Regions from separate parts of the Homo sapiens genome. Here regions 1, 3 and 4 are each linked to region 2. Evidence: promoter capture Hi-C in 16 types of primary human blood cells and fetal thymus (Javierre and others, 2016). All regions are on one chromosome and are shown on one strand. Each heading gives the region's core, a stretch centred on a gene start or on the middle of the fragment in contact. The rest is flanking DNA. Distances are from core to core; before and after follow the strand shown. Region 1 holds the start of CYB5R1 (cytochrome b5 reductase 1). Region 2 holds the start of MDM4 (MDM4 regulator of p53). Region 3 holds the start of RAB29 (RAB29, member RAS oncogene family). Region 4 holds the start of NUCKS1 (nuclear casein kinase and cyclin dependent kinase substrate 1).

What was found. The method cuts DNA at HindIII sites, captures the fragments that hold promoters and counts their contacts. A CHiCAGO score of 5 or more calls a contact.
Region 1: the fragment with the promoter of CYB5R1 here is called in contact with the fragment with the promoter of MDM4 in region 2 in 6 of 17 cell types (naive B cells, naive CD8 T cells, non-activated CD4 T cells and 3 more); the score reaches 9.3 in naive B cells.
Region 3: the fragment with the promoter of RAB29 here is called in contact with the fragment with the promoter of MDM4 in region 2 in 2 of 17 cell types (total CD4 T cells and activated CD4 T cells); the score reaches 5.3 in total CD4 T cells.
Region 4: a contact is called between the fragment with the promoter of NUCKS1 here and the fragment with the promoter of MDM4 in region 2, in 3 of 17 cell types (activated CD4 T cells, fetal thymus and naive CD8 T cells). The highest score is 6.5, in activated CD4 T cells.

What each region holds. Positions count from the first base shown.
Region 1 is chr1:202,962,498-202,969,061 of GRCh38, reverse strand. It overlaps CYB5R1 (cytochrome b5 reductase 1), which reads left to right and starts at 1,805. Exons shown (of 9, transcript NM_016243.3): 1 at 1,805-1,871; 2 at 2,164-2,313; 3 at 2,462-2,534; 4 at 3,069-3,175; 5 at 3,562-3,691; 6 at 4,367-4,450; 7 at 5,335-5,420; 8 at 5,897-5,996; 9 at 6,363-6,564. The coding sequence starts at 1,857. The coding sequence ends at 6,535. RefSeq lists silencers at 707-1,001, 1,618-1,777, 1,848-1,897. The HindIII fragment of the contact is 3,400 bases long and covers 832-4,231 here.
Region 2 is chr1:204,513,063-204,520,054 of GRCh38, reverse strand. MDM4 (MDM4 regulator of p53) reads right to left here and starts at 3,649. Exons shown (of 11, transcript NM_002393.5): 1 at 3,546-3,649. RefSeq lists enhancers at 3,377-3,656, 3,687-3,766, 3,777-3,906, 3,345-4,255, 3,196-4,395 and 1 more. The HindIII fragment of the contact is 1,369 bases long and covers 2,690-4,058 here.
Region 3 is chr1:205,770,962-205,778,363 of GRCh38, reverse strand. It overlaps RAB29 (RAB29, member RAS oncogene family), which reads left to right and starts at 2,882. Exons shown (of 6, transcript NM_003929.3): 1 at 2,882-3,091; 2 at 3,278-3,531; 3 at 5,797-5,868; 4 at 6,711-6,892. The coding sequence starts at 3,408. RefSeq lists an enhancer at 3,968-4,017. The HindIII fragment of the contact is 8,570 bases long and covers 1-7,402 here.
Region 4 is chr1:205,744,404-205,751,441 of GRCh38, reverse strand. It overlaps NUCKS1 (nuclear casein kinase and cyclin dependent kinase substrate 1), which reads left to right and starts at 1,260. Exons shown (of 7, transcript NM_022731.5): 1 at 1,260-1,485. The coding sequence starts at 1,469. RefSeq lists an enhancer at 817-1,066 and a silencer at 1,487-2,086. The HindIII fragment of the contact is 8,985 bases long and covers 1-5,667 here.

The sequences.
Region 1 (6,564 bases), core at 556-3,055, 1.5 Mb after region 2:
ATCGCCTCATTCTCTCGGAACAGAAAAGAGGAAGGGTCCCTTCCTTCCCCTTTTCAACCCTCTCTGCATGGATTGGCATGTCACCATGATCTGGTGCACTCACTTCCCTCAAGTCAGTGTGCAGGCTGCTTAAAAAATTCAGAGGAACATGTACTGGGGTCTTAGGAACATTTTCAGCCAGTGGAGAGGAAAAGGAAAACTAAGTATCTCTTGGATCATTCACAGAGTTCACCAAATACAACTGAAAACTGGGGGCTCTAATGTCCCTGCTGCCCTGATGGTATTAGTTTAAGATGTTGACACTGACATCTGCAGAGATCTCATCCATCACGGTATATCAAAGAGCAAATGTCATTCTAGTTGAGAAACTCATGTATGAGAAAGAATGGTCATCTTGGGAAATCTGTAGCTCCAGCGGCTCCTGATGTTTTTTCCTGCCTCCTCCTGTCCCATGCTTGTGCCCCAGGCAGAGCTCATTCCTAAAACCATAGCTGACCCTCTGTGCTGTCTTTTAAGTTATAATAGTAGCTGCCAACTGTTGAATATTTTGCTTTATGACAGGCACTACACTAAGCACGTTAACATATCTCACTGAAGCCTCACACCAAAGCTATGAACTAGATACAATCTATCTGTAGATAATAATATATATCCATCTGTAGATATCCATCTTATATCCATCTGTAGATGAAGAAACTCAGGTTGAGTAAGCTATCTAAGGTCACAGAGCCAATAAGTGCTAGAGGCAAGATTCTTATTCTGTACACTCTGCCTCCAAAGCCCACTTCTTTGACCCTAAGGGCACAAGAACCCAAATCAGGATGTGAAGCTTGGTCTTTGAAACCAAAGGAAGCTCCTGAATCATCCTGATAGGCTGACGGCTTGGCGCTGTAAACAAAATCAGTCTTTTGTCAAAAGGAAATGAAGTTGCCATGCCACTGTTCACTCCTGTAAGAGACTCCTCTGGGCTGTTCCATTCTCTTGCTGCAATTCAGCCGGTTGAAAAACTAAGGTGACTGCACAATGATTAACTTCAGGCCCTTCTGCTCTACTTTGAGCCTGTCTCTGGTTCATCGTTACACTCTCCGCTCAGCACCCGCAGACTCAAGAGATTTCCAATCCCCCAATTTAGCGTGGTTCTACCTTAGGCAGAACTCCCATCCAGTTCGGATATAAGCGGGTCGAAGTGGCAGGGACCACCTCGCTGGGAGGAGAGGCTGGAGCTGCGGTCTTAAAAGATCTTGGGGCCGGGCGCGATGGCTCACGCCTGTAATCCCAACACGTTGGGAGGCCGAAGCGGGTAGATTATTTGAGCCCTGGAGCTCGAGACCACCCTGACCAACACGGTGAAACCCAGTCTGTACTAAAAATACAAAAAAAAAATTAGCCGGGCGTGGTGGCGCACGCCAGTAGTCCCAGATACTCGGGAGGCGGAGCCAGGAGAACCACTTGAAACTGGGAGGCGGAGGTTGCAGTAACCGAGATCGCGCCACTGCACTCCAGCCTGGGCGACAGAGCGAGGCTCCGACTCAAAAAAAAAAAAAAAAGTATTGAATAAGCACCGGAGACCCTGAGCCACCGAGTAGCGGAGGGAAAGGGTGGCGCGCAGAGGGGCCCAGCCCCGCCTCTGCCGGACCCCGCCCCCAAAAGGCCCCGCCGCCGCCACCTCCTGCTAGGCCCCGCCCCCGACAGACACCCCCCCCCCCCCCCGCCAGGCCCCGCCTCCTGCCCCCCCAGCCGCGAGGTCCTGCCTCCTGCCCGGCCCCGCCCCCGGCCTGCCCCGCCCTCCGACCCGCCCCGCGGCGCATTGTGGGATCTGTCGGCTTGTCAGGTGGTGGAGGAAAAGGCGCTCCGTCATGGGGATCCAGACGGTAAGACCCTCATTCAGTATCCTCCACTGGGGGACCCCTCCCCATCTGGTTCTGGCCACTCAGCTCCGGACCAGGGGCTGTCGCTGCCGACCCCGCCCCGCAGGGCTCTGGGCCCACCGTGGATGCTGGGGTCCCGATCCCGCACATCCGGGCTCGGGACTCCGCCAGGTTACCCCTCTGCCCTTGGCATGCCTCCGCGCTGGAGCTCGGGATCGCCACCCCTGGGACGGTCACCACCCAAGCCCCGGGCTCTTACCCAGCCTGGCGGTCACGCTGCCTCCTCTACCCACAGAGCCCCGTCCTGCTGGCCTCCCTGGGGGTGGGGCTGGTCACTCTGCTCGGCCTGGCTGTGGGCTCCTACTTGGTTCGGAGGTCCCGCCGGCCTCAGGTCACTCTCCTGGACCCCAATGAAAAGTACCTGCTACGACTGCTAGACAAGACGGTAAGTTGGGGAAGAAAGGGCCAGGGTGAAGGAGGGGACCAGAGTGCTCCTGGCATGGAGGGTACAGCACCCACGGTGGTTGGGATGTCCAAGGGACGTGGCAGCGCCAGGCGCGCTTGGTGAAACACTTGTGTCCTCCACCCTCCAGACTGTGAGCCACAACACCAAGAGGTTCCGCTTTGCCCTGCCCACCGCCCACCACACTCTGGGGCTGCCTGTGGGTAAGGAAAGTGTGGAATGGGCTCCTTTCCCTGGTATCCTCAGAAGGTGACTCCCCTCCTGGGATCTCATGAAACACGCTGCTTCAACCGGTTTGCTCCACACACCATTCCCCTTCCCCCACTTGGCTCTGCATCCTCCAAGCTGTGAGGTGCCACTGGGCCCCTCTAGAGTGTGGCTTCCATGACCCCCATCCAGCTTTAACACTCAACAGTCTTGCCTCTTCCCTGCAGGATTTGCTAATTACTCCCTCTGAGCAAGCACTACTAACTTTTTCCCATTGCCCAGACCCTTTTGGCTCATCTGTCAAGGTCCTGGCAGTAACTGGCAGGAAACGCTGGAAATAAGTGTTTCCTCAACTGGGCGCTTATAAGAGATCCAACTGAGGGCTCAATGGGGCAAATCTTCCCTGCCTTGTAGCTCCTTGGGACCACAGCAGGAAGCAAGACATCTTGTTCTCTCAAATCTCTTTGAGTATTTTGAGGGATGCAGCACATCACAGACAACCCTTATGTAGCTCTCTGCACGGTCCCCAGGCAAACATATCTACCTCTCCACCCGAATTGATGGCAGCCTGGTCATCAGGCCATACACTCCTGTCACCAGTGATGAGGATCAAGGCTATGTGGATCTTGTCATCAAGGTAAGGGGCTAGGAAGGGACCCAGGGGCTGCTTACCCATTCTTTCTGGGATTTGTAGAAATTTCTAAGATTTGCCTGACAGCAGGAAATGGTATGTACTCTGTGGATGTGAAGAAAGTATGAGCTACTCAGGAGACTGAGGCAGGAGACTCACTTGAACCCAGGAGGCGGAGGTTGCAGTGAGCCAAGATTGCGCCACTGCACTCAAGCCTGGGCAGCAAGAGCAAAACTCTGACTCAAAAAAAAAAAAGAAAGAAAGAAAGTATGTAGACGGGGAAAAGATAGCACATATCTGATCCCTGCCCCAGCCTCAGGGAGGTTTAGTCAACATGGGGCTCAGAAACCAGTGACATTCCAAATAAGGTATTTTTCTCTCTGTCTTGTAAGGTCTACCTGAAGGGTGTGCACCCCAAATTTCCTGAGGGAGGGAAGATGTCTCAGTACCTGGATAGCCTGAAGGTTGGGGATGTGGTGGAGTTTCGGGGGCCAAGCGGGTTGCTCACTTACACTGGAAAAGGTAATGACCTGTCTTCTCCTTGAGCCTGTCTCCCACTTTATCAGTTCCCATAGTCCTCTTGGCACAGTATGGCTGTGTGTACACATGTGTATGCACGTAAGGGCCAGGGCCGCCCTTCCTTCTAAACATAGCGCTGATACAATAGAAAGGCATGTTTCTCAGCCCCATTTGCCACAGGAAGCAGTTCCTCCTCCACTTGAATTCCCTAGCCATGGCAGCTGTGGAGATTACTAAAGCAAACATGTGCCCCTCTTCCCCACCTTCAAAAATTTGCCCCCCTGGGTGAGCTGTGGAGTGAGCCAGAGATAGCTTTCAGCCCTTCCCATGGGAACAGCTGGGTGCATTAGCAAGTCCCTGGAGCTGCTGTGTGCCACTTGGGAAAATAGATTCACACCTGGCTCTGTGCCTGTCTCCTTCACCAGGGAGTGACACTTTGCCAGAAGCAGCTGATACATTGTGTGGCGCTGAACTGACTCACAGATAGCCCTGGCCCCATTGTCCCTCAACTATATTATTGTCAGGGCTGGCTCAACTCAAGCTTCCACCCAAGCTCCAGGATCAGATGTCATAGCAGCTGCTCAACTGGCCTCAGGCATATTTTCAACTCTGCATTTGTTTTCTAAGTTCGCTGTATTGACTTTATTCTTCCACTGCTCTCTTCACCTGACCTCTCAGGGCATTTTAACATTCAGCCCAACAAGAAATCTCCACCAGAACCCCGAGTGGCGAAGAAACTGGGAATGATTGCCGGCGGGACAGGTGCATTACACTGAGGGCCTTTCTCTCCCACCATTGTTGACTGTTGCCATGCAAATTCCTAGGTGACCCTCTGAAGACTGGTAACCATAGCCAAGCTGTTGTTCATCAGGGGATTTCCAGCAATGCTTAGAACTCCCTAGTATCTGAAAAACAAAATCATAAGCAGGTAGAAACCAAAAAAAATTTTAACTGATGGAATTAGAGAAACAAATTAAATGAGCTTTCCTCATTTTGAATGGATCTAATAGTTTTAGGTGAGAGAAGAGAGAAGCAGCTAGGAATGACTAGCTAGGAAGAAAGAAAATTAGCATTGGACACTACTGTGCATTAGACACTGTGTAGTCTAATACACTACTATATATTAGACACAAAAATTAGACACATATATAGGTATCTATGAAGTAGGTACTAGCCTTTTCCTTTTACAGAGAGACAATGGGGTTCCAGAGAGGCTAAATGATTTCCACAGGGTTATTTCACTGGTAATGGCCTGGAGCAAAATTAGTATTTGGCTCTGCCTAGTGCCTAAGTACATGCACTTAACCTCTGCAAATACAGTGTTCTAGAACCCTCATCATTGAATCCGGAGGTACTTGTAGTCATTTGTGACACTGGAGTCCTAGCCTCCAAAGGACTTTCAGAAGAGTCTTAGATTAGTTCCTAAGAAAGATTTCTACAATATGAACTTAGATGAATTTGAAGGGTGCCCGGAAATACAGATGTTGGAGAATATGCAGGAAGAGTTTAGAGGATGAGAATGCTAAAGGAAAATGGAGTGGAGTGGTGAATGAGCAGAATGAAGATGAAAGGGCTGGTCAGCTAAGGAGCCAGGACAGGGCAGAGAGTGTGGCCACTACATTTCACTGTGGGGTATCTTCATGCAGGAATCACCCCAATGCTACAGCTGATCCGGGCCATCCTGAAAGTCCCTGAAGATCCAACCCAGTGCTTTCTGCTTTTTGCCAACCAGGTTGGTTTGTTTTCCTCCACCCTAAGACTTCAAAGTTGCTGTGTGGGTAGGGCTGAGAGACGTGGTATGGATGGGCAGAACTGGCCCAGTGCCCTGTTTTAGCCTCTGCCCAAGGTCCCCTCTGTAAGGCACAGGGTCCTCTTTCAATAAGGAGGAAAAGGACAGAGCACTGAATCAAATTCCTTCCCTGGTCCCCAAGGAAAGAAGAAAACTTTTAAGGTATCTAGTCTGGAGCACAGAAACTTAGATCTTCTTGGTTAAATATTCATCTTTGTTCCTTCATAATGTGTAGATAAAGGCTGTTCCCCTCTTCTCCTCATCCTAACTCCCTAAAAGCACTGCAAGTCTTGCTTATTTCCTAGAACTTTTGCTTTCCCTTAACATTCTTTTTCTTAGTTGGAAAGTTGTATAGCAGAAAACTTTTTATGTGGGCCTGAGAAGACTCCTAAAGACTTTCCTTCCCCTTTGCATTTCAGACAGAAAAGGATATCATCTTGCGGGAGGACTTAGAGGAACTGCAGGCCCGCTATCCCAATCGCTTTAAGCTCTGGTTCACTCTGGATCATCCCCCAAAAGGTATCCTTCCCATTTCTGGACATCCCACTATCCCCTCATCGTCAAAATCAAAGCCTTGCCCCTTTGTGAATTCTGGCTTCATTGAAATCAACCTTGCCTCACACTGCCAACTCGGAAGTCTGAGTGCACAGACACAGTGATCTCCTGGTCCCTTTCCTTTGGGTTCCTGTTTACCAGGTGGGTGACAGGGATGGCGGTGCTGCTAAGGCTCAGCTTGAGGCAGGCTGAGTATACCCATTCCCAGCTGCTGCTACCACTTGACACTTTCTCCAGAGCCTTTCAGGGCCCTCCCCAGTCTCATGGCACCACACCCCCTTGCCAGCATGTATCTGGAGTATTAAGTACTTTCTTCTCCCCATACTTCAGATTGGGCCTACAGCAAGGGCTTTGTGACTGCCGACATGATCCGGGAACACCTGCCCGCTCCAGGGGATGATGTGCTGGTACTGCTTTGTGGGCCACCCCCAATGGTGCAGCTGGCCTGCCATCCCAACTTGGACAAACTGGGCTACTCACAAAAGATGCGATTCACCTACTGAGCATCCTCCAGCTTCCCTGGTGCTGTTCG
Region 2 (6,992 bases), core at 2,400-4,899:
CCGCCCGCCTCGGCCTCCCAAAGTGCTGGGATTACAGGCATAAGCCACCGCGCCCAGCCTAAAATGGTAGTTCTTTCTTATCTCTTAGTTTTTCGTTTATATTTTTCTCTTTCTTTGTTCTAGATTTTCTCCTTCTAGAATTCTAATTCATTCCTCAGTTGTATCCGTTCTGTTATTTATTCCATCTGTGATTCCATAACATTACAGATGGAATAAATTACAGAATAGATATAGATGTTTTGAGACAAGGTCTCACTCTGTCGCCCAGGCTGGACTGCAGTGCCGTGATCATGGCTTACTGCAACCTCAACCTCCCCAGCTCAAGCAAGCCTCCCACCTTAGCCTCTGGAGTAGCTGGGACTACAGGCGTGTACCACCTAATCCAGCTAGTTTTTTTAATGTTCCCCAGGCTAGTCTCAAATTCTGAGCTAAAGCAATCCTTTTCAGCCTCCCAAAGTGCTGGGATTACAGGCATGAGCCACCATGCCAGGCCAATGTTCTTTAATCCAACCACTGTATTTTTCTTTTTCATATACATATATTTTTTGAGACGGAGTTTCGCTCTTGTTGCCCAGGTTGGAGTGCAATGGAGCGATCCTGGTCCACCGCAACCTCCACCTCCTGGGTTCAAACGATTCTCCTGCCTCAGCCTCCCGAGTAGCTAGGATTACAGGCATGCACCATCACGCCCAGCTAACTTTAACTTTATATTTTTAGTAGAGACGCGGTTTCTTTTTGTTGGTCAGGCTGGTCTCGAACTCCCAACCAGGTGATCCGCCCACCTTGGCCCAGCCTGCCAAAAGCATTTTAAAAAGTAAAAAAATCCTATAGTGTCAGGCCCTGCTCAACAGCTTGCTATTGCTGTAAAGATAAACACGTGGTCTATCCCCTCAGCACATTTTCACTCTTATCTTGCACTGTTTAGTCGTATCTTGAGCCTCAGCCACCCTGATCTTTTAGTTTCTCAAACAGGGCCTTTGCACAAATCGTCCCTTCATTTGGAGCACTGTGAGTTTTGTACAAAACTGATTCATCCTAAACCTTCAAGTCTCAGGTTAAATGTCACCTCTTCAACAGTCATCACGAGATTCCAGGCCAGAAGCAGTGGCTCACACCTGTAATCCCAGCACTTTGGGAGGCCAAGGCAGGCAGATTGAGGCCAGGAGTTCAAGACCAGCCTGGCCAACATAATGAAAACCTCTCTCTACTGAAAATACAAAAATTAGCTGGGCGTGGTGGCACAACGCCTGTAATCCAGCTACTTGCGTGGCTGCGGCAGAAGAATAGCTTGAACCCAGAAGGCAGAGGTTGCAGTGAGCCAAGATCATACCACTTCACTCCAGTGGCAGGGGTAGGGGATGCTAAAGCCATCTGAGTGAAAGGTTGGGGTGGAAAGAAAACACGTGGAGTAGGCTGACCATTCCACCATCCCCAACCTTATCACTAAAAGAGGGTCATTCACACACCATATACTACTTGATTATGAAGCAACAAGAAACTAGCACAACACCTATTAAGTATTCCTGACCAAAAGATAAATAATCCAAATCTAGACCTACCTACTAACTGCAAGTTACTAGGGAAAATGGAGAGCAAGCAGTTAATAAGTCAAATCCAGAACGTAGGTGTTCTACAGGACCTGGGACGGCAGGGAAGATTAAAGTGGGAAGATTAAACTGGGAAGATTAAATCTTTAATTAAAGATTAACGATTGTTATAGAATCTTAAAAAACCAACTGCAGCCGGTGGCCTGTGCCTGTAGTCCCAGCTATTCCGGAGGGCTGAGGCAGGAGGATCCCTAGAGTCCAGGAGTTTCAGGCTGTAGTGTGCAATGATCACACCTGTGAATAGCCACTGCACTGCAGCCTGAGCACACAGTGAGACCTCATCTCTTTTTTTGAGACAGGCTCTCGCGCTGTCGCCTAAGCTAGAGTGCAGTAGCTCCATCCCGGCTTGCTGCAGCCTTTACCTCCTGGGATCAAGCAATCCTCCCACCTCAGTCTCTTGGGTAGCTGGGACTGGAAGCTCGCTCTATGACACTGATTTTTTTATTTTTTGCAGAGATGGGGCTCAGTTTGTTGCCTAGGCTGGTGTCGAACTCCGAGACTCAAGCAAACCTGCCCCCTTGGCCTCCCAAAGTGCTGGGATTAAAGGTGTGAGCCACTGGGCCTGGCCGAAATCCCATCTATTAAAAAAAAAATGTATGAGGAGAGAGAAGACTAAATCTAAACTGAGATACAGTAATACTTAACACCAAGAGGTTCCAAGTATCTTTGACAGATACTAGTTCCACGTGCCAACAGCACAGAGCTGCAGCATTTTCTCCGGGTGTTGCTTTTAAACTGTGGTTTTCGGCCGGGCACGGTGGCTCACGCCTGTAATCCCAACACTTTCGGAGGCCGAGGTGGGCGGATCACCTGAGGTCTGGAGTTCGAGAACAGCCTGGCCAACCTGGTGAAACCTCATCTCTAATAAAACACAAAATTAGCCAGGCGTGGTGGCGCACACCTGTAATCCCAGCGACCCGGGAGGCTGAGGCAGAAGAATCACTTGAACCCGTGAGGCAGAAGTTGCAGTGAGCCAAGATCGCGCCACTGCACGCCAGCCTGGGCAAAAAGAGCGAAACTCCACTCAAAAAAAACAAAAACAAAACAAAAACACAACCAAAAAAACCTGTGGTTTTCAAGCTTTAAGGTATACAAAAATCACTGGGAGGTGTGCTCATTAAAATATATTTCTCTGAGCCCCATCTCGATACTGTCTGTAGGTTTCAGTGTGGCCCCAAAACGAACATTTTTTCTTTTTTTTTTTTTGAGACGGAATCTCCCTCTGTAGCCCAAGCTGGAGTGCAGTGGCGCGATCTCGACTCACTGCAACCCCCGCCCACGGATTCAAGTGATTCTCCTGCCTCAGCCTCCCGAGTAGCTAGGATTACAGGCATGCGCCACCACACACATCTAATATTTTTGTATTTTTACTAGAGACGGGGTTTCACCAGGTTGGCCAGGTTGGTCTCGAACTCCTGTCCTCAGGTAGATCCACCCACCTCGGCCTCCTGAAGTGCTGGGATTACAGGCGTGAGCCACCGCGCCAAGCCAAAACAAGCATTTTCAAACAAGCACTCAAGTGCCTCTAAGGTAGACTGTCCGCAGACCTAAAAACTAACTTAAAAACTTAAGACACGTCAATGTCATTCTACCCGGTTCCCTCTCTCCCACCTCCTTTCTCCAAATTGCCTCAACAGTCCTCAAATGTTGTGTCCAGTTAAACTCAATCCAACTACGTCGACTTTAGGTTTGTCACCTGTTGGCCAAAGTTACTTCACGTCACCCCACCTCCACTTTTATCTTCCGCGAGCCCTCATCCCACAACTCTTCCCCTCCCCCCGAGCCCTTCTTCCGCCTGGCGCGGCCTTCCCCACGCCGCCCGACCCACCTCTCAAGCTCCTCCCGCCCGCTACCCGCACAACTGGCGGTACGGCCGCCTGCTCCTCACTCTCCAGCTCCCGCTCCCGGCACCCCGCCGACGAAGGCCAAGAGCCACACCTTACGGCAGCTCCATGAGTCGCTCCCCCGCCGAGCCCGGGTGGGGGGAGGGGTGGCAGTCACAGATCCTAGGGCCTCGGCAGCATTTTGAAATGGCGAGTAATGAAGCCGCAACTTCCGGCCTCCCACACGGCCTCACACGAGGGCTTCCGGTGAGGCCTCCGGAAACCATAGATGGAGCAATGGGAGGACTAGAGAGCTAGAAAGGCTGAGCTCACTACCATAGAGTAGATCCTAGTCCGGGGAGAGAGTCGTGGGGCCCGAACGGTTGAAAGTCGTCAGATTTGAAGAGATAATAAGTGAGGGACTTGCAGGGTCTTGTGATATTTACAGACGTGTATTAGGAGATCAGAAAACAGAGAAGAGGAAGAGCTAAGGTCATAATCACAGGCTGCCTTCAGCTCTTCGGAAAAACTACGCTTCCTCTGCCATTCCCCAGTCCTCACCCTTACTCCCCAAGGGTGGTAGGGAAGGGAAACGGAGCGATGGCGGCACTAGGGTGGCAAGGAAGCTTGAAGCCATGTCAAATAAATAGTTGAAAGCACCAGCCGCTGTGGCTCACGCCTGTAATCCCAGCACTTTGGGAGGCCTAAGGCAGGCGGATCACCTGAGGTCAGGAGTTCGAGACCAGTCTGACCAATATGGTGAAACCCTGTTTCTACTAAAAATACAAAATTAGTCGGGTGTGGTGGCGCATGCCTGTAATCCCAGCTACTCAGGAGAATCGTTTGAACTTGGGAGGCGGAGGTTGCAGTGAGCCGAGATAGCGCCATTCCAGCCTGGGCAACAAGAGCGAAACTCCTCAAAAAAAAAAAAAAAAAAGAAAAAGAAATAGTTGAAGGCTCAAGGGAGTTTTTAACCTGCATATAAACGAGGGAGGCCGGGCGCAGTGGCTCTCCCCTGTAATCCCAGCGCACTTTGGGAGGCCGAGGCGGGCGGATCACCTGAGGTCAGCAGTTCGAGACCATCCTGCCCAACATGGCGAAACCCCCGTTTCTACTAAAAATACAAAAAATTAGCGGGGCATGGTGGCGGTCACCTGTAATCCCAGCTACTTAGGAGGCCGAGGCAGGAGAATCGTTTGAACCCGGGTGGCGGAGGTTGCAGTGAGCCGAGATAGCGCCATTGCACTCCAGCCTGGGCGACAAGAGCGAAACTGCATCTCAAAAAAAAAAAAAAAAAAAAAGAGGGAAAGGGTTGAGCATAGAAATTGGAAGCTGTCTTCAAATAACTGAATAGTATAATATTGGAAATAACGGAGCCTTATTCTCTTCTCCAAAGTGCAGAACTAAAACCAATAGAAATTACAAGGCAGTATTTTTAAGCTCAGAAAATCCTCTAACATTTAGAGTTGTTCTGAAATAAATGAAATTAGGTATTTGGGGGAAGTAATGTCATTTGAAGACAGCCTGCCTGAGAGGTTTGTTGAAAGCTCTTCTATATTAGGAAACATTAAAACTGGCTGTGTAACCCAAGAAAGCTCCATCTCAGTGTTCTTTGCACCTGTCTTTTAGCATTTACCACGTATTTTTTTTTTAGTTATTTGTGTATATACCATTCTTATCTCTCCCAATAAGCAACAACAAAACCTGGCTCCCAATGCTAGATACAGACCCATGCAAAAGAACACAGGGCAGTAACCTTCCTTAAATTTGTACATTCCGCTTTGTTCTACTTCTAGCATAACCTCCTGCATAGCTGGGAGATCCAGGGTTCCATTAAGGAGCTGAAGAATTAACTTCTTTTTCATAGAAATCTGCAACCACCTCACTCACAAAAAAAAAAAAAAAAAGGTCAAGGGTGCTTTTTTAGGTGAACCACTGTCAACTATTTCCCCTGTCCTTTTGTGCAATTAGTATTTTTTAAAACTTTCAACAGGAATTTTTTTTTTGTAACTTTTAAATAGCATCTGGTTAGTTTGGATCCTTTCCTAATGTCTCCTGGAGCCTTGGAATATGATCTGTTCATGCAATTCAGTTTGTGTGAGATCAACAGGTATTTGTTGAGGCCAGGTGCAGTGGCTCACACCTGTAATCCCAACCCTTTGGGAGGCCAAGGTGGGAGGATCGTTTAAGCCCAGGAGTTCAAGACCAGCCTGGGCAAGAAAGCGAGAACACCATCTCTACAAAAAAAAAAAAAAAAAAAAAAAAAAAAAAATTAATTAGCTGAGCATCCTACTTGTGCCAAGCACCAATCTAGAGGATTCCAAAACAAGACCTGAAATCTGTCTAGTGGAGGAATCAGACTGTCCAGGTAAAAAGAATGTGGTAAGTGCAATGATTGATGAGCTGCAGTTAACCTCCTCTAGGTTAAGAGAGATAAGCCTTTTCAATTTGGGCAAAATATTGACCAACATCTTTAATTCGTCTTCATTTAAAATCTCGAGGGCCCGGCGCAGTGGCTTATGCCTGTAATCCCAGCACTTTGGGAGGTCGAGGCAGGTGGATCACGTGAGGTCAGAAGTTCGAGACTAGCCTGGCCAACATGGTAAAACACTGTCTAAAGATACAAAAAAGATTAGCCGGGTGCAGTGGTAGGCGCCTATAATCCCAGCTACTCGGGAGGCTGAGGGAGGAGAATTGCTTGAACCCGGAGGAGGAGATTGCAGTGAGTCGAGATTGCTCCACTGCACTCTAGCCTGGGTGATGGAGCCAGACTCTATCTCAGTCAATCAAAAAAAACAAAACGTTGATAAATATGTTGACGAGGCCATGGTGAAGAATAGAGTTTTTCCCATCGTGGTTGACACTGATTTGTGAGTAATTGCTCATCTTCTAATTTTTTTAAAAAAATAGACACAGGGTCTTACTATGTCGCCCAGTCTGGTCTTGAACTCCTGGCCTCAAGTGATCCTCCCCCACACCTTGGCCTCCCAAAGTGTTAGGATTACAGGTGTAATCTTATAATCCTACAGGTGGCACCCGCCAGCACGCCCAGCTAATTCTATGTGTGTGGTTATTTTGTTTTGTTTTGTTTTGTTTTGTTTTTGAGACGGAGTTCCCTTCTGTTGCCAGGCTGGAGTGCAGTGGCACGATCTCAGCTCGCTGCATTCTCCGCCTCCCAGATTCAAACGATTCTCCTGCCTCACCCTCCCAAATTGCTGGGATTACAGGCGCGTGCCACTACGCTCCAGCGTGGGCGACAGAGGAAGACTCCATCTCAAAAAAAAAAAAAAGAAGAAATGAAAGAAAGAAATGAAATTGGAAATTGGCTTAAAAACTCAACTGAGTGATCACCACTTCCTTCTTTAAGAACTATGCTCACAAACCATTGATTCGAATAAAAAGACAGGAAATCTGGGTTCTAGTCTAGCTATTTGTAGAAAACAGAAGAAGTTACACAGGTTTCCGGTCTTCAGTTCCCTAATCTGTAAAACAAAATGGCTGAATTCAGCCATTTCTTATGGCCCTTCTAGTTTTAAAAAAATTAAAAGTCAGTATTATTGGT
Region 3 (7,402 bases), core at 1,633-4,132, 1.3 Mb before region 2:
ACTCCAGCCTGGACAACAGAGTGAGACTCCATCTCAATAAACAAACAAACAAATAAATAGGTATAAAGGGACATGTGTAAAGGAAATAATAATGCTCAGAATCTGAAGTCTACATGGAGGCAAGAAATGATGAGACCAGTGACAGAAATAGGGAAGCTGAGAAAAGGAGCTATTTTTATGGCAATGTAGTAAGAGGAAGGATGTGGCAGGACATCCAAGTGGGGGCACCTTTTGGGCAGCTGAATATCACTGATCAGAGATAAAGAACAAATAAAGTGTTAATGGTAGCTATGATAGCGGTTATCACCAGTGCCGTGAGTATTCCTTCATTAAGGGCTGACACAGAGAACAATTATACTTATTGGGTATATTTATCAATCTTGGCTGGCAATAATGCCTGGATGCAATCACTTTATGACGCAGTTACACATGCTTTCTGATCTCAGTATTTACCATAATAAATCTGCTCCTATAATTGAGGCATACCGCCCTCAAAAACTTATTTGTAAACAGGATTGGACCCAGTTAGAAAAAATGAACGTACTTGTTTAGGAAGATTGCATTGCAGAACAGGCAGAGATGCTGCACAATGATTCCTATGGAATCATTATTAATTGGTCCCCTAAGGGGATGTTTAGCTTGAATTGCACCTCTCAGTCTGCGTGCCACGGCCACACTATGTTCAGCTGGTCTGAACAAAATGGTCAGATGGTAGATATAATAAGAAGTACAGCAAGAGTTCCTATTATCTGGAACCATGGCAGTATAGTGACACCTCAACCTCAAATGATATGGCCCGCTCTAGGAGCTTAACATAAGGATTTAAAATTAAAAGAAGAAATATTTAAAGCATCCGAGGCACACTTGACCTTAATGCCAGGAACTGGAGTGCTTAAAGGAGCCGAAAATGGATAAAAACACTTGGAAGCTCTGTGATTTCAATGATGATTGTGCTTTTAATCTGTGTTGTTTGTCTTTGTATAGTCTGCAGATGTGTATCCTGACTCCTGCGAGAAGTAGCTCACCGTGACAAAGCTGCCTTTGCATTTATCAATTTGCAAATCAGAGAAGAGGGACATGTTGAGAGCAGGCCCCCCAAAATCTGGCCATAAACTGGCCCCAAAACTGGCCATAAACAAAATCTCTGCAGCACTGTAACATGTTCATAATGGCCCTAACGTCCACGCTGGAAGGTTGTAAGTTTACAGGAACGAGGGCAAGGAACACCTGGCCCGCCCAGGGTGGAAAACCGCTTAAAGGCATTCTTAAGCCACAAACAATAGCATGAGTGATCTGTGCCTTAAGGACATGCTCCTGCTGCAGTTAACTAGCCCAACCTATTCCTTTAATTCGGCCCATCCCTTCGTTTCCCATAAGGGATACTTTTAGTTAATTTAATATCTATAGAAACAATGCTAATGACTGGTTTGCTGTTAATAAATACGTGGGTAAATCTCTGTTCGGGGCTCTCAGCTCTAAAAGCTCTAAAGGAAATCAGACCCCTGATTTCCCACTTCACACCTCTATATTTCTGTGTGTGTGTCTTTAATTCCTCTAGCGCCACTGGGTTAGGGTCTCCCCAACAGAGCTGGTCTTGACAGAATATCACTGATCAGAGATAAAGAACAAATAAAGTGAAGATAGATCTTTGACACCAAGGACAATTCACTAAAGAGTTTATCGAATGATTGACTCAGAGACCAAGAATCAGGCCTTAGGAAATACTTAGCGGGAAATGGGATGGAGAGAAACCTGAAAGAAAAAGATAATCATCAGAGAAGTACGGGGATGACAAAGAAAGAACAGCGTCATAGAAGGCATAAGGGAAACAAATGTCAAGGAGTGGTCAACTATGTCAAAACGAATAAGAACAGAGAAAACTGGATCCTTAAAGATGAGTAGCTTGAACTAACCTCCTGTACCTGGGTAACGAACATTCTGGGCAAAATATATTGTGAACCATGCTGATGTTCTTTCGCCACAAAACATAAGTGATAGCCTCTCTATCAAGAGACCTAGATTTCCTAGTGTCTGGTCCTGGGCTGTTTTCCCATGGCCCCGCTGGTTCTCTTCCTCTATTCCTAGAAAAGTATAGAAAATGGAGCTCTCTTTGCTTGCCATTGAGCTCATGTCCTGCCAACTTCTACCCAAGTGACAGGTAGGTCAGTAAAGTTACAGGCTGAGAAATTAAAATTATTTGCCAAACACTAGTTTTATGATTATCTATTAACAACAGCCACAACAAATCAAGAAGGAGTCCCAGTGTATTTCAATTAGCTTCTAGCTCAAGTGATACATGAGTAGTATGGCTAGAATAGGCATTGTAGAAGTATGAATGGAGAACTGTCTCTTGTTTTCTGTCCATCTTTATTGTTATTGCTGGATATTAAATGCTGTAATTTTTGGCATAGGTTTTTTTCCAAAGACTGGTCTCTTGGGTCAAGTTTTCCTGAACTTGCCTGGTATTGGGCAAGTTCACACAGAAAATATGAGTCATTTCACAAAGTCCTGGGCTTGTCTATCTACTTGAAGGAATAGGAAATGGACTTCACTTGGAGCATGATGGATGAGGCTTGGGCTTTTACTAATGAAATAAGTTTCAATCTTAACTCAGTTAAACCTTTAAAGACAGGAGAAAACTATCTGGGGATGGATTCAGGCCAGTGAGATCACGTTGCACAAATCTCCCCTTAAGGGATCTTTACTGACCTAGAATTGTTTCAAAATAAGATTCCAAACTGTCGAGGGAGTTTGAAGCCTTGAAACTTGGTGTAGGTTTGCTTAAAACAAAATAACGAATATACTACATTTCCCAGGAGGCTTCGCGGTGAGCCTCCGCACTCGGCTGGTTCTCTTTACCGCGAGGAAAGCTGGGAAATGTAGTGCCACAGGCAACCCTGCACGTGACGCTTGCGGAGGAAGGGGAGAGAGAGGCGCGCGGGAGGGCGTCTAGGGAATCGAGGTGCCGGCTGCTCCTTCCTCACAATTTGGTTTGTGCTGCAAGGGGAGGGTCCCCATCATCTGGCCCCAGTGGTGTAAGGAGCTGACTGGGATTCAGTCACTGACTTGGAGCCGCTCGGGGGAAGTCCCGGTGGGTGAGGTTCCGCGGCGCCTGGTCCAGTTTCTCGGCAGTCAGGCCAGGAGGGGGTGGGGAAGGTGCGAACAGCCGGGGGCTCGGAGCTCGCGCCCTGCGCCCCACCCAGGTTGCGGCCGCCCGGGGAGGAAGCGCGTATAGGTTGAGTGCAAAGTTTCCTTTTTTGCTTTCTCGTCAGAGCAGCCCAGACAGGCGGTGGGTGGGAATGCCTCACTTCAGTTTGAAGAGGGTCCGGATCCAAAGGGGTTAAAACGAGCGACCCCCGATCCCCGACCACACTTCCCGCCTCCCTAAAACGCACACCCCGCTAGCCATGGGCAGCCGCGACCACCTGTTCAAAGTGCTGGTGGTGGGGGACGCCGCAGTGGGCAAGACGTCGCTGGTGCAGCGATATTCCCAGGACAGCTTCAGCAAACACTACAAGTCCACGGTGGGAGGTGAGACGTCTCGGGGGTGGGGAGGGGGAGGGGGAGGAGGAGGCCCCGACCGCGGACTCGAGCTGGGGACCCAAGTGGGGTGGGGATTTGCTGTCGGTTGTTGGGTCCTTCTTCGGGTCAGGAAGTACTGTCTGGGAACCTAGATGGTGTAATTGCCGGGTGTTTGGTTTACACGCCTCTCTTGAGTTTCCCGTTAGATTTTCCCAAACTGAGCCCACTGCCAGGAGAAAGGTAAGAGCAAAGGCGTGAAGATGAGAAATAGGGAAGGGAGGATGAGGATGAGCAATTGCTGTTTATTGCAGGCGTACTGTGAACTTAAGTCTCCAGCCTTTCAGCTGTCCGGCAAATCTCTCCAATCAGCAGAAGCAGCTGAGATCCTCTGTGGGGCCTCCTGGTTAGGTGCCGGCTGGGGCTGTAGTCCTGCCCCTCTGTTGAGGGAGGAACCGCAAGGTGTTTAACCTGGCTTCAGTGGGAGAACGCAGGAAGCGGAACTGGTCTGAAGGACTGTAGCTTTGTTGTGGGGCTGTGGGTGGGATGGAAGACACAAAATCCCCGAACGAGCCCCTTGGCTACGCAGTCAGATGCCCATGAGGGCTGATGAGCTGTGTTTTTGTCCGTTGATTGCTTAAATAAAGGTAACCAAGGAATTCTTCCAAGAATGTGAAATATACCACTTCTCTGACCTATCTTCCCACCACTTTTTTCCTCAAACTGGAGAAGGTAGGGAGGAAGGGGACACCGAGTTCATTCATTTCTTTCCCGGGTGTGGCCTTTGGACTCAACTATTTTTTCAGAGGCAGAAATGCCTTATTGTTAATTAGAAGGTATTTAGCTAGGAAGAGCTGGTGATGGGGGAGAGTAACTTAAAATTTTATTTCTCTCTGTTAAAAGAACTTGTTTCAAGGGGGGAAAACTCGTACCAATGGAAAAATTGAAAATGTGTGCTCCTGTTCATATGGAAGTTTAAAAAGAAATTAACAAACATTTACATTGCAATTAAAACATTCTCCTTAAGAACCCCCAGTAGGGCCCAGTACCGTGGTTCATACTTGCAATCCCAGCACTTTAGGAGGCTGAGGCGGGAGGATTGCTTGAGCCCAGGAGTTCGAGACCAGCCATGGGAAACATGGCAAGACCCCCACCTCTACAAAAATTAAAGAAGAAAGTAGCCGTGGTCCCAGCTACTCGGGAAACTGAGACGAGAGGATTGCTTGAACTGGGGAGGTCGAGGCTTCAGTGAGCCCCGTTCGCACCACTCACTGCACTGTAGCCTGGGCAACAGAGTGAGACCCTGTCTCAAAAACAAAGGAACAAAAAATTTAAGTCTGGCAAAATTAAAGGTTCAAAGTTTCAGACACTCTATCCTGACCGCTCTGCCCTCCCACTCCTAAATAATATAAGGGTCCCTATTTCACGGATTTGGGTTAAAAGTGGCCTGCTATTAATAGTTAATTTTTAACAATTGCTGTAGTTTTCCTTTAGCAAAGAATATAATTGGCTAATTTTTTTTTCAGTGTTTAGTCTAAATTTCCCTTAGCTTTGATTCCTGTCACAGATGTGAAAGATAATATTTCCAAACCTCAGAAATTACTCTGTTTCTCTCCTTAGCCAAAAGGCTTTCCCCATGGAATACTTACTCAGCCTTAAGGAGTCTCAGCACCTGCAGACTTGGTGGTAGATTCCAGCAGGACTCTTCAGCAACATCCACACAGTGTCTTCTTCTTGGGACTCCTCTGGGACCTTTTCCATTTATTCCATTCTTGCCCAAGATAATACCTGCAACCTTATGGTGGATGTAGAGTTCCCCAGGGTGTGTTCTTTTCATAATACAATTTGATTAGAAACCAACAGTGAAATTGAATGTGGAAGATACGAAAGCAACCACACTTGTCTCATTTCCCCCTTCTCCCCCATCACCCCTTCCCTGAGAAAACCCCCTAAATCTCCCAGAAACTATTTAACCTGAGAATGAGAATTGTTTTCATAGTTACTCCCACCCCCAGTCTTGGAGACAAACAGTAGCAAATAAATGAGCTTGACAGTAGAGTAAAAGCTGGAAACCCCTTTGGAGAGTGAGTATGAATCATCCATCTCACACTAAATACACGCATGTGGACTCATCTCAGTGAATTGAGGGCTTAAAGTTAAACATATGGGATTGGAGTTGTGTGTCCATAGGGTTTCACTGCCTATTTGATTTGAGTTTATCCCTATTAATTTTTTACAGTGAAATTTTATTAAAGTATAATGTACATATATTTTCAGTGGATTTTGCTCTGAAGGTTCTCCAGTGGTCTGACTACGAGATAGTGCGGCTTCAGCTGTGGGATATTGCAGGTAAAGTGGGAGGGCTAGATAGGAACAAGGGAAGAAATTTTGATTTAACTAGAAAGCTCTGAGGAAAAAATGGGGCAGCAAAGCCAGAAATTGTTTTTCTGAAGCTGGAATGATTGAGCTGCTCTGAGGACACATGAGCTGAATAGGTGCAGAGCTTTTGTAGATGTTTTGCCCTGAATAGATCTGGAGCAGTCTCTATGTGGATGGAGGGGCTGGCAAGGTGGTGGATTGTCCAGACTATAGGTGGACACTCCCACAGCAGGGGAGGGTGCTTTTTCTAGGTTTAAGGCTGACCTTGGTGAAAAACAAGATCCCCAGAAAATAGATACAGTAAAAATAGTGAATCCTTACTATGTGCCAAGCATTCTTCTAAGTATTTTAAATTCACTGACTCATTAATCCTCACATCAACCCTATCATAAAAGCTACTGCTTTTGGAGAATTGCTTGAACCTGGGAGGTGGAGGTTGCAGTGAGCCTAGATGGCACCACTGCACTCCAGCCTGGGCAACAGGAGTGCAGGAAACTGTTTCAAAAAAAAAAAAAAAAAGCGACTGCTTTTATCTTCACTTTACAAATGAGAAATCTGAAGCACTGAGAGCTTGATTTGCCCGAAGTCAAATAGTATGCAGCAGAGCAGGGATTTGGACTGGAGCAATCTGGGTGCGGAATCTGCCTTGGAAATAATTGGGCTTCATTATCCCTTTATGGGATAGAAAACCAAGAGTCAGAGGGGGAAAGTGAGTGGCCCCATCTGACACATATGCTTACTGCCCTCTTCTACAAGGAATGGGGAGAGGCCGGCTCTTGGGTCACCTTGAGAACTCTCCCCTTTCTCCCCAGGGCAGGAGCGCTTCACCTCTATGACACGATTGTATTATCGGGATGCCTCTGCCTGTGTTATTATGTTTGACGTTACCAATGCCACTACCTTCAGCAACAGCCAGAGGTGGAAACAGGACCTAGACAGCAAGCTCACACTACCCAATGGAGAGCCGGTGCCCTGCCTGCTCTTGGCCAACAAGGTATGTGGCCAATCTCAGAAAATGGTCCCTAGCCTCTATCTGTGGTTAGAAAGGAAGTAAAATGCTCTCTGATTCTGGGCATCCATTTCCCCTTCTTAAGTTGGCAAAATCATCTCTACCTCCTTCAAAGGATGTTGAGGGTGAGTGAGACTTTCTTTCTTTTTTTTTTTTTTGAGACGGAGTCTCGCTCTGTTGCTCAGGCTGGAGTGCAGTGGCGCGATCTCGGCTCACTGCCAGCTCTGCCTCCCAGGTTCACGCCATTCTCTTGCCTCAGCCTCCCGAGTAGCTGGGACTACAGGTGCCCACCACCACACCCAGCTAATTTTTTTGTATTTTTAGTAGAGACTGGGTTTCATTGTGTTAGCCAGGATGGTCTCGCTCTCCTGACCTCATGATCTGCCCGCCTCAGCCTCCCAAAGTGCTGGGATTACAGGCGTGAGCCACTGCGCCCAGCCAAGGGTGAGACTTTCTTTGGGAAGAATGTTGATTATAGATTTCCGATGCTGGTGT
Region 4 (7,038 bases), core at 11-2,510, 1.2 Mb before region 2:
GTCCTGTTAGTCAAGATGCTCTGAGAGCGCACAGCCACCAAACAAAAATGATCGCTTTGACTGTGACAGGGATTGACGTCTATTTTCGATAGCAGACTCAGCCTTAGCCATTCACATAGGAATCCTGAGCTCTGCCTTTGAGAGTATTAGGCATCCAACAAATGCTCACGGATTTAAGTGAAATGATGTGCGTTACTTTCAGTTATATGACTTCGAAGAGTCTTTGTTTTGTTTTTCAAAGTGCAAGGGTAAATCAATAGAATTCATAGGGTCTTGAGCCAGCTCCACCCATCTCTACCCAGGGACGGAATCATCTTTTAAAACTTGGATTTAACACTTACGTAGCACTTACTGTGAGCCAGAGACTATCCTAAAGACTTTTGATAGATATATCAACTCATTTAATACTAATAAGCCTATGCAGTTAGGTACCCTTGTTTCCCATTTTACAGATGAGAAAACTGAGGCACAGAGAAGGAAAGTTATACCACCATTAAGTAGTGGACCTGGGATTCCACCTGAAATACCTTGTGGCCCCTGAGCTCATGCTCTTAGTTATTGTACACCTGACTCTTTTCTTAAAATAGTAATGCACCAGACTGGGACTTTAATGACCCTGAAGTGGATCTCAAGGTCCAGAATGGAGAATGGTAATTGGGGGTGAAGATATTCCTTGATTATGATCCTGCCTCTCTACTCCAGCAGCCTCATTTGGTCCCTGAGGGTTAATGCCGAAGCCAGGGTAAGGGGCTTGTAGGTTTAAGGTCAAATTTTTTGAACCTAAGGAATTTCCCTCCAATTCTGTAGCAGCCCCGCAGTGACGAATCTGCTGCCTCTCCCACGGGTTTTGCTATTAGAGGATTTTCAAGGTGATCAAGGCAGACGAGATGAAACACCATTAAACTAACACTGAGCAACGCTGAACCCTACATAAATCTTTTTTTCTAGTCTTTCTAAGATACGACCCCAGACGAATCTGCAACTCTGGAGTGGAAACCAGGGGGCGGGCTAAGCAGCGACCATTTTTGTTTTGCGGCCGTGCGCTCTCAGAGCATCTTGACTAACAGGACCCCCACGGTGAAGGTGGAGCCTATCAGAGAGCAGGGCGGGGCCTGGAAGACGTGATGATTCAAACGGACTAATGATCTGGGCGCATCTGGCAGAAGTCTCCAATGAGCAGGCGTGTTGGGGAGGAGCGCACAAACCCTAGTGGGTTTGGTTGCACGGCGGCTTTGGCGCATTTTCGGCTGGTTTGATTCATCCATTTTGAAGAGACGGGGGAGCGGGGGGCTCGTCTGTTCCAGGAGCCCTGAACCAAAGAGCAGCGGAGTTTGAGAAGCCAGCAGCTCGGGGTTCGGCAGCAGCGGTCCCATCGGCTGAAGTTCGGGGGGGGTGGGGCGCCGAGCGCGCGGGGTGGGGGGGGTCCTGGTCTTTGGCTTCTCGACTCGGTCCTGTTTCGACAGCGAACATGTCGCGGCCTGTCAGGTCAGTGCGGAGTCTGAGGCCTGGAGCGGGTTGGAGGGGGATGGGGGCGAGTGGTGAAAAGAGTGGGGGACAGAAGGCTAGAGTCCGCCATCCCCGGTGCCGCGCGCGGCCTCCTCCCTTTCGGGGCCCGCGCGCACCCTTGAGCGTGGGGGGCCCTGCTGGCGCGCGGGGGTGGTGGCTGCGCGCCCGTGCGCGCGCCCCTCCCCGCCCCGCGCCGCTGCAGGGCTCCGGTCTGCTCAGCTGCCTCCCCCACCCACCGCACTAGAGCGGGCGGGGTGTCCCTGAGCCGCCAGCGGCCGGAGGGGGAGGGGTGTGAAGTCAGCGCCCCCAAGAGGCCCCACCTCCTCGGGGCCGTCCCCTTGGAGCCAGCGCGGGGAGGCGGGCGGACTCGAGCTCCACTCCCCACCTTCAGCGAGGAGGGGCGGAGGCACCCGTATTGCCCCTTCCCCCAGCGACTGGCGCGGGGGTGGGGGCCCTGAGCCCTCTCTGTAGCGGACGGGGGTGTTCCTGGCAAAGGGGGAGGGGCAGCACTGCCAACCGGCCCCGCCTCTGTCCTTCGGGGTCGCTGCAGGCCCCGCCTCCCGGATCGGGCCGAGCGTGGGCGGGACCCGTTTTTTTCCCCCCGGGCAAAAGTGAGAGTTCGGGACTGGATCCTGGAAAATAATGGGCTGCTGCCTCTCTCCCCACCTCAGAGTTTTGAGAGAGTTAACCCCAAAGTTCGCTCTTTCTCTCCGACTAGAAATGTCCTTCCTCGGGGAAATGTCCGTACTCAGGGAGGTGCGGGTTAACAGCACGGCCCAAATCCCGTGTGGTTCTCGTTCCACTCTCACCCGCGTACGCGTCTCGGGATATTTTTGTAACCCTCTTGTCCCCGAGTGACTTTAGTAATAAAAGGGCTAGGTTCGGGTAACCATCAGACTTCATTCTCGGAATTTCAACAAGTTTGCTATTCCCCCAGCTGTCGGTGGAATCGTCCTATGCCATTCTCCAGGCTATTGTATGGAATGTGCCATTTATGGAGGGGTGTGGTTTAGTCCAATCTGTTGAGGCCTTAAAAAGGAGAGCTGTTGCAAATAAATATTTTTAATGTAAGGAATTGGCTTCTTTGCATAGTGTGTTTTCTAAATAAATAGATAAAGGCTTAGTTTTTAAATGTTTTAACAGTCGTTGCTTCCCCTTCATTCCAAGTTGTGTGGGAAACGGAAGTACCTTTAATTAGAGTTCTAAAGAGAGGTTTGGGACCCTGGCAAGGGTTTTGTTCTACACCGTTCTGTCTCCAGACTAGATCATCCTCCAACTGGTGGTGGTATGAGACTGCGTACTCCTACACACGGGGTGGGAATGAGGAGAAAGCTGCTGTTAGCTCTGTTTCAATCAGCATCTGTGGTAACTCACGATCTCTACTCTGAAAGTTATGCTGGCCTTTTGGCAAGGAGTCTGGATAGCTCTTTCAGAGTATAGTTTGCGTAATTTTTTTGGCATAAAACTTGACCAATGTATCCATCAACTCACGTAGAATATTTTCTTTAGGATCAGGTAAAATAATAAAATAAAGATTTATTTTACCTGGATTGGATCTTTTGTCTTCTGGAAGTAATTACTGTGTGGTCAAATTAGGTCAAATTAGGAAAAATAATTCCTCTACCTTTTAAATTTTAGTTCACTAAGTTTTGATGACTTTATTTTATTGTGGTGACGTTCTTATCTCATCTGCCTGAATTTGTTTTCCCAGATTTAGGTATTGGAACATGAACAGAACATTTTTACTGGAAAACTTGGATTTTTTATGTTACCATGTGGGGATATATATATTAAGCACATTCTATCAGTTTTTTGGAGGCATTGGGACTTCTGCACAACTTTTTTATTACTCAGTATGTTGTTTAAACTAATTTTGACCTTGTTTATTTCCCCTAATTGAAGAGTGAAGTTAATATGTTGTGGGCTGTTTTTTTTTTTCTTTGCCATTTTCAAATTATTAATTTCAGAGCAAGTTGGTTACGGAGTATATTTTAGTCATAAATTCTTTGTAATTATTTTTTAAAAGAAGTCTTTATTCATGACCAATAATAAAGCAGAAATAATTAAACTTGAGTTTGGTGGTTTGTTAAATTTTGCAATAAAAAAGTCCTGACTTAGGGAAATGATGTTGTTTCAAAGTATAATTGAAGAATCTATATTCCCTTAGTGCATTTAACATCAACGAAAAAAGTGATAGACATTGACCTGATTTCAGAATCATCAGCCTTGTTTTAAAAACAAAAAAGCACAAGTTGGAAAATATTGTCACTGTGTCGTCTTTTGGGGTATTTCTGCCCTTAGGCCTGTGTATAATTTTGCAGTTTTTCTGGTTCTCATTGTACCATAAATATCCATTTTTATTTTAATATGAACCTAAACATTTTAAGAGCATTTGGAAATGTACCTATGGCACCTTAGCATCAATTTCCAAATGAAGGGTGGTATGGTGGACCTATTGGCTACTGCATGGTTTTGCAAAGACCTGTGTCTAGCACGTTATGTTTAACTTTGTTCATACAAGATTGCTGTCTTTACCCTTTGCAGTGGCCGACTGTTAAATGAGAGCTCAAATATTTTAGGCCTTGGATTCAAATTAATAGCTTAAAATTAGCCTTGGAGCTAGGAAGAGGTTTAGGCAAACTCACTTTATTAAACCTAGTTTAATGGGGACCTGGATAAGTGAGGTGCCTTGCATCACGAACTAGCAGGTGCAAATGTTGGGCTGAGAACCTAGATTTCCCAATTCCCAATTCCCAATTCTGGTCCCCACCCGCATGATCGCTGTACCTTCTGCCCGATCAATATTAATGTTATTAGTGCTGATTAAAGAACATAGTATGTAACATTTTTAACTTTTTTAAGTGCTTTCATGAGTCAACTTTGTGAGGAAGGAAGGAAAATGCCATTACTTGTAAGAGGTGAGAAAGAAAGCTCAGATTTACTGACTTGCCCAAACTAGAAACCAGATTTCTTGAAATTCAGCTGTTACACTCTCCAGAGATCCTCCTCCCTTATTGAAAGTGATCCAGGTTGCTCAAACCAATCTTTTTGCTTCTCCTTGTAACCTAAGTGTGCTTGATACCTTTTGTTTAACACTTGAGATTGTAAGGAACCTTACCATTGAAAATTTAGATGTGAAAACATAAGCTCTTACAAGTTGTTATAGAATTTATTTTATTGTTTGTCATGTTTATAAGTAGTGTTGAGAATTAACGGCTTTCCCAGGATTCCAGTTTGCTTTCTTTTCAAAGAGAATTGTTTGGGCCATGCCTGGATTCTAAAAATATTCTCTCCCCCAAAACAATTGGTTTCAAGAAGTCCTCAGCTAAAGAGAAAAACTAGAAACTTGAAAATTCAAGGTAGTTCAAAATGTGTTACCAAATGTGCACATGAAGACACAAGTTTAATATGGTTGTAGATGAGACTGGCTCATTCTCTTATTCTCTAGTGTGTGTGTGTGTGTGTGTGTGTGTGTGTGTGTGAGAGAGAGAGAGAGAGAAGTGAGTTTATTAACCTTGGATCTATACTTTTTAAAATTACCTGTCAGTTTCCTCTAAAAAGACATAATTCCTTCAAAGACATGCCATCAAAGATACATAATTTACAATGCCTGAATAATGGGGGAGTTATTTATTTATTTGAGATGGGATTTCCCTCTTGTTGCCCAGGCGGGAGTGCAATGGTGCAATCTCGGCTCATTGCAACCTCCACCTCCCGGGTTCAAGTGATTCTCCTGCCTCAGCCTCAGAGTAGCTGGAATTACAGGTGCCCACTACCACACCCAGCTAACTTTTGTATTTTTAGTAGGGACAGGGTTTCACCATGTTGGCCAGGCTGGTCTCGAACTCTTGACCTCAGGCGATCCACCCACTTCAGCCTCCCAAAGTGCTGGGATTACAGGCGTGAACTACCGCGCCCGGCCGGAAAGTTACTTTTATAAGAAAAGTATTCACTTTTGCTCAACATACATGTAATTAATTACCTGAAAATTACAGTGTTTAAAATTTTCATTTTAAATGTTTAAAATGTTTTCATTTTCAACAAACATTGAGAAAAAATGCAGTCAGGAACTGTGCTAGAGGTTTTCACTTTGTTTTATCCTTATTACAACCCTGTAACAAGTATTTTTCTTTATCACCATGTAACATGACAAAACAAGCTTAAAGAATATGTTACAGTTACAGAGCTATGATAGCAGAGCTAAGGTTTGAGCTCAGATCTGAATACAAAACTAGCATTTTTTTTCCATGGTACTAATCTTTCTTGCCTAGTATTCAGTGTGAAGATGGTCAGGTTTTTTTTAATATCTCCTCAATGGTGAATACATTCCATACACATTGATTTTTAGCTGTTTAAAACATTTTAGGAAAAACAGCCAAAATGTTTAACTTAGCGTTTTTGCTCAACTCAATATTTAAAATAATTTTCAGAGATACTTTTTTTTTTTGGAGACAGGATCTCACTGTCACCCAGGCGGGAGTGCACTGGTGCGATCACAGGCTCACTGCATCCTCAACCTTTCAGGCTCAGGTGATCCTCCCACCTCAGCCTTTCAGGTAGCTGGGACTATAGGTGTGGCCCACCACGCCTGGCTAATTTTTTGTAGACAGGGTTTCACCATGTTGCTCAGGCTGAGAGAGATAGTTAAAAGTACTAAATTAAAAAAATAAGCTAGAAAGAACTTAAGTCCCGTTCCTTCAGTTTACCAGTGATGACTTTGAACCCAAGGAGTTAGTGTAGAGATAATATCAAGGCTGGATTTAGACTGCATAAATCTTAGTCATTCTCCTTTTTACTATTTGTATATACAGTATTTGATTTTACAGAGAGTGTATTAGAAGTCCACATTCCTAGTTTGAAACCATTGGGGCCATATGTGGTTTAAAATTTTTGAAAAATGTGGAATTCCCAAAAGGTAACAGGATGCATGTACTGTATAGTAATGTACCATCACTAGTTTAGGGTAGTACTCCTGTAAACAATCACATTAATATCTCTCGTGAGGGCCAGGCGCGGTGGCTCATGCCTGTAATCCCAGCACTTTGGGAGGCTGAGGCGGGCAGATCACCTAAGGTCGGGAGTTCGAGACCAGCCTGACCAACATGGAGAAACCCCGTCTCTACTGAAAATACAAAATTAGCCAGGCGTGGTGGCGCATGCCTATAATCTCAGCTACTTAGGAGGCTGAGGCAGGAGAATCGCTTGAACCCAGGAGGCGGAGGTTGCAGTGAGCCGAGACCACGCCATTGCACTGGAGCCTGGGCAACAAGGGCGAAACTCCGTCTCAAAAAAAAAAAAAAAAAAACTCTAGTGAACTTAGGAATTTTCACACTGAGATATGAAAGGCCTCACATTTAGGTCATCATATTTTGCCACCATGTAAGTTATGAAAATACTTAATTTTCAGAACTTTTTGGATTTCTAAATTGTGGGTTGGTGGATTGAGGACATTTAACAGCATGAGCTGAAAAAAAATCACTTCCTCACTTAGTAGAATTAGCAATTACTGAGCAACTCTTAGATGCCAAATAA